Regions from separate parts of the Homo sapiens genome. Here all the other regions are linked to region 2. Evidence: promoter capture Hi-C in 16 types of primary human blood cells and fetal thymus (Javierre and others, 2016). All regions are on one chromosome and are shown on one strand. Each heading gives the region's core, a stretch centred on a gene start or on the middle of the fragment in contact. The rest is flanking DNA. Distances are from core to core; before and after follow the strand shown. Region 1 has its middle 22 kb from the start of PNMA6F. Region 2 holds the start of PNMA3 (PNMA family member 3). Region 3 has its middle 16 kb from the start of PWWP4.

What was found. The method cuts DNA at HindIII sites, captures the fragments that hold promoters and counts their contacts. A CHiCAGO score of 5 or more calls a contact.
Region 1: a fragment that was not itself captured here is called in contact with the fragment with the promoter of PNMA3 in region 2 in 5 of 17 cell types (activated CD4 T cells, M1 macrophages, naive B cells and 2 more); the score reaches 6.5 in activated CD4 T cells.
Region 3: a fragment that was not itself captured here is called in contact with the fragment with the promoter of PNMA3 in region 2 in 10 of 17 cell types (M2 macrophages, non-activated CD4 T cells, total CD4 T cells and 7 more); the score reaches 9.0 in M2 macrophages.

What each region holds. Positions count from the first base shown.
Region 1 is chrX:153,297,910-153,301,273 of GRCh38, forward strand. No RefSeq gene overlaps it. Among named protein-coding and RNA genes, the nearest start is that of PNMA6F, 22 kb to the right of the region's middle. The HindIII fragment of the contact is 1,939 bases long and covers 806-2,744 here.
Region 2 is chrX:153,054,576-153,057,719 of GRCh38, forward strand. PNMA3 (PNMA family member 3) reads left to right here and starts at 1,895. Exons shown (of 2, transcript NM_013364.6): 1 at 1,895-2,063; 2 at 2,375-3,144. The coding sequence starts at 2,481. The HindIII fragment of the contact is 3,087 bases long and covers 322-3,144 here.
Region 3 is chrX:153,248,721-153,251,778 of GRCh38, forward strand. No RefSeq gene overlaps it. Among named protein-coding and RNA genes, the nearest start is that of PWWP4, 16 kb to the right of the region's middle. The HindIII fragment of the contact is 651 bases long and covers 985-1,635 here.

The DNA of each region.
Region 1 (3,364 bases), core at 525-3,024, 240 kb after region 2:
GAGATAGGAACTAAAGAAACACATAGCATAAGGTAATGGGCAAGTCAGCAGTCATGGGATCCAGTAAAAAATTAAAGGAAATTTCTGTGGGCCTAAATGGCATCTGTTCACATCAGGAAGCCAGGAGCACACCTGGAGACCAATGCTACTAGACCACCCTCCTTGGTAGTGTCTTATGGTATGTTAAGGGGGGCTGGAGAATAAACCCTTTGTATGCCTATTTACCACAACTCCCTCCCAGCACCCAGGAAAGGGACCTGCCATTGTTGCCCATAAAAGAAGCCAGAGTCTCCCTTCTCTCTCCTGCTTCAGGAGGAGGCACTGCCACATCTTGAGGCAAGAACAATGATAAAATCTACAACACCCTATTGTTCTTAGACAGTGGAGCCTCATTCCAGCATCACTCTAATACCAAAACCAGATAAAGACACAACACAAAAGGAAACTGCAGGCCAATATCTCTGATGAACAGAGGTGCAAAAATCCTCCAAAAAAATGCAGGCAAACCAAATCCAACAGCACATCAAAAAGATTATTCACCATGATGAAGTGAGATTTAGCCCAGAGATACAAGGATGTTCCAACATAACAAATCAGTAAATGTGATACAACACATCAACAGAATAAAGGACAAAAACTAAATGATCATCTCAATATACACAGAAAAAGCATTAGATAAAATTCAACAGCCCTGCATGACAAAAACTCTCAACAAATTAGATATAGAAGGAACATACCTCAATGCAATAAAGGCCACGTATAACAAACCAACCCAAAACATCGTATTGAATGGGGAAACTTAAAAAGCTTTTCCTCTAGGAATTGGAACAAGACAAGGATGCCTACTCTCAACACTCTTGTTCAACATAGTACTGTAATTACTAGCCAGAACAATTAGGCAAGAGAAATAAATACACAGCATCCAAATTGGAAAGAGGAAAGTCAAATTGTCCCTCTTTGCTGATAACATGCTCTTATATACATACATGCATATATATATATATAAAGATTTCACAAAAATACTCTTAGAGCTAAAAAATGAATTCAGTAAAATTGCGGGATACAAAATCAACATACAACAGTTAGTAGCATTTCTATACACCAACAACAAACTAGCTGAAAAATAAATCAAAAAAGCAATCTCATTGACAATAGCTACAAAAACAATCAAATGCCTAGGAATAAACTTAACCAAAGAGGTGAAAGATTTCTACAAGAAAAACTATAAAATATTGGTGAAAGAAATTGAGGAGGACAGCAAAGATAAAAGGCACCAGTATTAGCCCATTTTCACGCTGCTGATAAAGACACACCTGAGACTGGGTAATTTATAAAGAAAAAGAGCTTTAATGGACTCAGAGTTCCACGTGGCTGGGGAGGCCTCACGATGATGATGAAAGGTGAAAGGCATGTCTTACTTGGCAGCAGGCAAGAGAGAATGAGAGAACCAAGTAAAAGGGGTTTCTGCTTATAAAACCGTCGGATCTCATGAGACTTATTCACTACCAGGAGAACAGAATGGGTGAAACTGCCCCTATGACTCAATTATCTCCCACTGGGTCCCTCCCACAACACATGGGAATTAAGGGAGCTACAATTCAAGATGAGATTTGGGTGGGGATACAGCCAAACCATATCAGCATCCCATGTTCATGGACCATAAGAATTAATATTGTTAAAATGACCATACTACCCAAAGTGATCTACAGATTCCATGTAATCTCTATGAAAATACTAATGACATTCTTCACAGAAGCAGAAAAGGCAATCCTAAGATTCGTATGGATCCAGAAAAGACCCCTAATAGCCAAAGCAATCCCAAGAAAAAAGAAAAAAGCTGGAGGCACTACACTACCAGATTACAAAATATACTACATAGCTATATGCTATTGTCTGGATATGGTTTGTTTACCTCTCCAAATCACATTTTAAAATTTAATCCCCAGTGTGGCGGTGTTAGTAGGTGGGAACTAGTGGGAGGTGTTTTGGTCATAGGGGCAGATCCCTTATGAATGACTGGCTGCCACCCTCGTCTTCACAGTAGTGAGTGAGTTCATGCTCTATTATTTCCCATGAGAACTGCTTGTTAAAAAGAGCCTGGCACCTCCTTCTCTCTGTCTTGCTTGCCTCCTCTCACCATGTGATCTCTGTACATGCCAGCTCCCCTTCCCCTTCTGCCATGATTGGAAACAGCTCGAGGCCCTCACTTGACGTTAATGCCAGTGCCATGCTTCTTATACAGCCCACAGAACCGTAAGCCAAATAAACCCCTTTTCTGTATAAGTTACCCAACCTCAGGTATTCCTTCATAGCAACACAAAGGAAATAAGGCACTGTAGGAACCAAAATAGCATGGTACTGGCATAAAAACAGATAAATAGACCAATGGAACAGAATAGAACACCCAGAAATAGAGCCACATATTTACAGCCGACAGATTTTTTTAAAAGCACCAAGAACATTCACTGGGGAAAGGACAGTCTCTCCAATAAAGGGTGCCAGAAAAACTGGATCTCCATATGCAAAAGAAAGAAACCAGATCCTTATCTCTCACCTTATACAAAAACCAATTCAAAATGGATTAAAGACTTAAACCTAAGACCCAAAACTATAAAACACTACTAGAAGAAAATATAGGGGAAACACTTTAGGACATTGGTCTGGGAAAAGAATTTATAAATAAGACCTCAAAAGCATAGAAAACAAAAGCAAAAGTAGACAAATAAGATTATATCAAAATAAAAAGCTTCAACACAGAAAAGGAAACAATCAACAGAGTGAAAAGACAACCTACAGAATGGAAGAAAATATGTGCATTCTGTTCATCTGACAGGGGACTGATATCCAGAATATACAAGGAACTCAACAGCAAAAATACAAATAATCTGATTTAAAAATGAGTAAAAAATCTTAACAGACATTTCTCAAAAAAAAACAGAAATAATCAACAAATGTATAAAAAATGCTCAACATCACTATTCATCAGGGGCATGCAAATCAAAACCACAATGAGATATCGTCTCACCCCAGTTAGAATGGCTATATTGTCAAAAAGACAAAAAATAACAAATGCTGATAAAGATGCAGAGAAACCAGAACTTTTATACACTATTGGTAGGAATGCAAACTAGTGCAGCCACTATGGAGAACAGTATGGAGGTGTCTCAAAAAAACTACAAATAAAACTACCACATGATCTGTCAATCCCATTACTGGGTATATAAAAAACTACAAATAAAACTACCACATAATCCAGCAATCCCATTACTGGGTATATACCCCAAAGAAAGGAACTCAATATATCAAAGAGATATCTGCATCTCCATGTTTAGTGCAGCACTATTCACAATATCCAAGATATGGA
Region 2 (3,144 bases), core at 645-3,144:
TATCCATCAGTTCCCCAACTTTGGTGCTGCTGTGTTATCTACCATGCAAGGAGATGGGGAAGCAAAAGTAATTAAGACATTTCCACTGGTTTCAAGGGCAAAGGTTAACTCCAATATAAAGGAGTTCTAAAACTTTTCAAATTGGACATATTCACATCTATTGTCTTGATACCAGTGTTTCCAAATCCTTTTTTCCCAATGCCCAGAACATCCACAGATCACTGCGTCTGTCTGGGAACTTCACAGGCTTCTTTCCGGAGACATTCCAGACACGCCCCTCTGCCTTGGCATGAATACTTGGCATCTCCCCTTGACATCTCAAGCTTTGTCATTTACTCACTGTGTGACCTTGGGCCAGTAGTGTCCCTTCTCTGAACCTCTGTTTCCACCCCTGCAAGTTGGGCAGATGAAGGTTCAGTTTGAAGCTGGTTGAGCCCTTGGAGTGACAAAGCAAGGGACTGTGAATGGACAAAAATGAGAGAAATAAATTCTAATAGGCATGAAGCAACCAGGGGAGAAATAGTCCCAATTCTACCCAAAGACTGATGGGCACTAATTTAGAATCCAGTCTCAATTCTACCTTCAATACGGTGTGTGACCTTGAAAATGTCTCTTAATCTCTCTGAGCCTCATGAGTCAAATCAGGATAATGTTAATACCTGCTTCAGAGTTCTGGTGAGGAGCAAATGAAATAACTCCTGTAAAGATGTTTCAGGAATTCTGTCTGACCAGGAAAAAGCCCTTGGGGCCATTTCTTCTTGGTCCCTGACAAGTGCCAGGCTGACGAGCAGAACTCAGGGTGGGGCAGGAAGTCAGTGGACAGTTTTGTGCCCCACTCACTGCAAGGTGGCCTCCCAGACTTGGCTGGATGGGTGAACCTGGCCTGAAAATCAACCACAAGCCCCTTTTCGTTGTGTTTGGAGAGGAGCTGAAGCTGTGTGAATAGGAGTTGAGCATGCGGCTGGCAGAGCAGGCAGGACCCACAGAACACCTGGGCCCACTGCCTGAGGGACAGTCACTCCCTTCTTCATTTGGCTGCTGCCCTGGGATCAAACGGATACAATAGAACCCACGGCGCACGGCTGCCAAGGAAGGGCAGGCCCAAGGGATTGGGCTCCAAGTCCTGGAAGTGGTTTCCCAAGTCACTAGATTTGCAGCGCACAAAACCGGAAAGGTCCCGGTAAACCTGTCCACTGGCACCTGGGCAGCGAAGCGCTTTGGCCGGAGGGCCTCAGGTCCCAGCAGCGGGATGGACAGCGGGGAGATGGCTGACCCTCCTTGGGGTGGTGTGCGTGACCTGCATGAGTGCCTGGGGCATCTCCTGCACGGAATGGCACCCGCACCAGGTGCCCCTGGCCTCGCCAGCCAGAGGACCAGTCCTGGACGGGGAGGGGGAGGACAAGAGCAGGTGAACAGGCCCCAGAACCCGGCTCCCTGACCCTGGCCATAATGCAGAGCTGCCTGGCGCACCTCAGACCACTCCCTGGCCCTCTGGTGGGCACGCCGGGGTGCAGACCCCTCGCCCCGCTGGCACCTCCGTGGCACGTGCGGGAGGGGCAGGAGCCGGGACCAGGAACCGCTGTGGTGAGAGCCAAAGGCACGGGGACTGGCCGCCACAGACCTTTGGCCACCGCAGTGGGGATGGGGGTGGGCGGGCGCTTGTGTGCCCGGGGGCCCGGGGGCCCCCGTGGCGGGGGGGCTAGGGGAGAGGAGCAGGTGACGTCACCCGGGGACCTGGGGCCCCCAGGGGCGGCGGCGAGAGCCCGACCTCGTGACCCGTCCGCGCCAATGGCCCTGCGGTCTCCCGGACGACGCGGAGGGGTCCGCGCTGCACCGCCGCCGCGCCCCCGCCCCGTGTCCGCACTGCAGAGAGCCGCGGCGAGCAGGCGCCGGCGCACTGGCCCACGTGCTGCGCGAGCGAGGGAGAGCCACAGTCTGAGCGAACGTCCGCGCTGGGAGCCAGGGGTGCCCGACCCCCGTCCGCCGCCGCCGCCGCCGCCGCGCATAGCCCCCGGAGAGCCCTCTGGGGACCCCGACCAGAAGGGACCTTGCCCTGGGAGAAGGTAACAGACCCACCTGGGGAGGGAGACGCTGGGCCCCGGGAGACTCCGCCGCCCCTCGCCTGTCCGCCCTATCAGAACTGAAGCAGCCTGCAGGGCAGGGGTCCAGGGTCCTGGGGCAGCGCGGGGAGGGGGCTGAGGCCCGCAGAGACCCCACGGGGGGTGGGGGTGGGGGGCTGGGCAGGGGCGGGGCCTGGCTGCAGAGGCGCCGCCCGGGGAGGAGGGCGGCTGGGGGTGGGGGTGGGGGTGGGCGTGGATGTGGGCGTGCGGAGAGGTGGGCATTAACCTCGCTCTCGCCCTGCTCGCATTCACAGGCTGTGGAGACCTGGGCCTTCTGCGATCACCCTAGGAGTTGATCCAGATATGTGCCTCACGCCCTGATCACTCCCCCCAAATTAGTATCCGCAGAGATTCGAGGACATGCCGTTGACCTTGTTACAGGACTGGTGTCGGGGGGAACACCTGAACACCCGGAGGTGCATGCTCATCCTGGGGATCCCCGAGGACTGTGGCGAGGATGAGTTTGAGGAGACACTCCAGGAGGCTTGCAGGCACCTGGGCAGATACAGGGTGATTGGCAGGATGTTTAGGAGGGAGGAGAACGCCCAGGCGATTCTACTGGAGCTGGCACAAGATATCGACTATGCTTTGCTCCCAAGGGAAATACCAGGAAAGGGGGGGCCCTGGGAAGTGATTGTAAAACCCCGTAACTCAGATGGGGAATTTCTCAACAGACTGAACCGCTTCTTAGAGGAGGAGAGGCGGACCGTGTCAGATATGAACCGAGTCCTCGGGTCGGACACCAATTGTTCGGCTCCAAGAGTGACTATATCACCAGAGTTCTGGACCTGGGCCCAGACTCTGGGGGCAGCAGTGCAGCCTCTGCTAGAACAAATGTTGTACCGAGAACTAAGAGTGTTTTCTGGGAACACCATATCCATCCCAGGTGCACTGGCCTTTGATGCCTGGCTTGAGCACACCACTGAGATGCTACAGATGTGGCAGGTGCCCGAGGGGGAAAAGAGGCGGAGGCTGATGGAATGCTTACGGGGCCCTGCTCTCCAGGTGGTCAGTGGGCTCCGGG
Region 3 (3,058 bases), core at 60-2,559, 190 kb after region 2:
ATGTAATTTCAAAATGGATGTTTCCTTGTGTCTAACTGACCTTCTGAGGTCCGTGTTTGGTTGTTCAATTTAATAATTGAGGAAGTGCCATTATTCAGATCAAGAATAATTAGACACTGGCAACAAAACTTCTTTTTCTGAGTTAGTGTTATGAAGAGAATGTGGTTTATGTAATTAATCAGCCTTTGAGGCCAAATGGCTTGTCATTTGGCTTTAAAATATATTCTAGCTTTGAAAATACACAGATGTTGGCTGAATGAAAATGGTGGCACATTACTTTTGACTGCTTTAGAAGACTGAAAGCAAACAGCTTGTTTGGAAAGTAAAAAAGCCAGAACCCAGGGAGAAGCACTACTCCAAGCACTGCCAAGACACCATCACCTTGGTGGTGTACTTACAATCAGATGACCCTGTGTGAGCGAGTTTGTCAGTGAATGTGTTGAGTGGATATGGGCTGGGTCTGGAGACTAAACAGCTTCAAAGTTCTGGCAGGGAAGGCCTAGCTTGGCGCTGGAGCCACCTGGCTGAGTAATCTCATTTTGCTCAGATGCCTTCTGCTTTTCAGGTGTCTCGGGCTTCTTCCTGCAATTAAACAAAGGGCCCTTTGAAGGAACTGACTGCATATTTGGGAAGAGGCGTTTTAGAATCTTTTAAAGATAACTTGATTTTTCTTTTTCTGAACGAGTATGGGAGGTAGTCTAATATGTCCCTTGTTTTGAAACAAGATGATTCTTGGATTTTGTTTTTTTTGTTTTTGTTTTTGTTTTTTTTTCCCCCTTCAGTAAAGGCCCAACTGGGAACACAGCACTACATTCGCACTCTGTTGGCTATATAAAAAGACCCTGTCCCAGAACTTTAGAGAGTGTGAGCTACGTATGGCTGACATTATCCAAGAAAGCATCCCTTCTTACCTCCTTAGCAGTTTTAACACGGTCTGGAAAAATACTAGTGGAGGTTTACTGTTCTAGAGTTTGTCAGGAAGCTTCAAAACAAGATTCATGGAGGAACGGGAGGAACACTGGACTGGGAGTCAGGATATTTAGCTATGGAACTCGCTGTGCCTCTCAGTTGCTGTCTGGCGTTGGGCACCTCACTTTACCTCTTTGTGCTTCAGTTTCTTCATCTGTCTAATAAAGGGCTTGTGTTAGAAGGCCTTCAAGTTTTCATCCAACTTTAAATTTCTACTTAATTAAGTCGAGCATTCAACTTTTGTGCTGTTATTTTATTTTAGATTTTATTTTAAATCGATACATAATTTCAAATTACAATTTCAATTTGCAGGCTATACAGATGAAGTGGTAGTGGTGGAGGTTTTTCTTAGAGTAGCAAGTGAAGCATGTAAAGAAGAGCTCAGACATTTATGCAGCCAAAAGACACATGAAAAAATGCTCACCATCACTGGTCATCAGAGAAATGCAAATCAAAACCACAGTGAGATACCATTTTAATAAACATTAAAATGTTTTCAATAGCTAAAATAAACATTAAAATGTTTTTTAAAAAACATTTTAATATTTCAAATAATGCTTTGCTAACTATATGGTTGATTCTAAGTTATGGGCCTACCATCAATGCATATTTTCCAGTATTCATAAGGGAGATGTATTATTTTACAAATATTTTACAAATCAAGCTTACTATCTATAGTAACCAATTAATAAGACAGCTCATGCATCAAGCACACTTTCATCACAAAATAGAGCAAAGCTTTCAACACATATCTGCTTGTATGTATGATCCATAGAGAGGAGACAAAACTGAAGTATGACACGGTTAAGAGTTTGTCCTTTTACATAGTTAATTTAACTGATAGCTGAGGTATCCATTTAAAACTTAGATGCTTGATAGCTGAGGTACCCATTTAAAACTTAGATGTTTTTGGTTGTGATCACACGTCTCTCACATGCCAGCAAAGTTGTCTGAGTTCTCCACTACAGAGGTTATTAATGTAAACATAACAATAAGAGGCTATTTTAGAGGCCTCAGTTTGCACTGCCCACCCCAAGAAAGAAATGGGAAAGTCTTATAAAATAACTAGAATAAGAAAACAGCAATGGATATGAAAAACAGATATATCACTTACTATCTGACACAATGTGGAATATATATTATTTGTAAATTATTTTCTCATATTCCACAGTGAATAAAGTAAAAGCATTACTCTGCCTAACCACTGTGTGTACCATCCACTTCACTCAACAGCTTAAAAGGGTAAGGAAGGAAATCGATGGAGCTGAATCACACTCAATCCTTATGTGGCATCCTGGATAGGAGAACAAAGCATTAAATAACACTAATGCAGCCCCCTCATTAGCATTTCTTGCTATAAAAGATATATGGCTGACAACAATGTTCTTGAATTACAAGTATCTCCCAGACACCTACAAAGCTTTCCCACATATTTTGAAATTCATTCCTGGAAGAAATTACTTTTTTTTTTTTCACTAGGTGTGAATAAGATACCACGCTTGTGTTGTAGGGCATGCCTGATGCCCAGTGTTTTAAACACAAAATGTGCCACGAGTCAAAGTTGATTTTTCTGAACTTACTTTACTAGGAGGCACAATTACATTAAACACATTACCACATGTCTTCCTCATCTGTTTCTGCAAAATGACTACTTTCGGGATGGCTGTGCATTCCTGAATTCCGTGCTGCACTGAAAATTTGAAAAGGCAAACGTTTTTAGAGGAAGGATGCTATTGTGGACATTTTTTCACATGGAAATGTACTATTTGTGGGTTTGTATGGCTGTTTGCCAATTAAAGCTTTAAAGCAGACCTATATACATGGAGTCCCTTGAGCCCTGACCATTTTACAGAGACATTTTTGCAAGCCCTCCAGGACTGAAGTCATAGATAACCATGCACTGCGGATCAGACTCCTTGGACGTCACGGACTGCACACATCCAGAAGAGCAGCTCTAAGGGCATCTGTAACTCTGCCGTGGGGCAGGAGCTTCCCATGGGAAACCTAAAGCCCTTGAAACTGCTTTAGAAACCTAGGGCTTCTTAGCATATGCAAGGTGGGCACCAAAGTAACGAGGGTGCCACGGGCT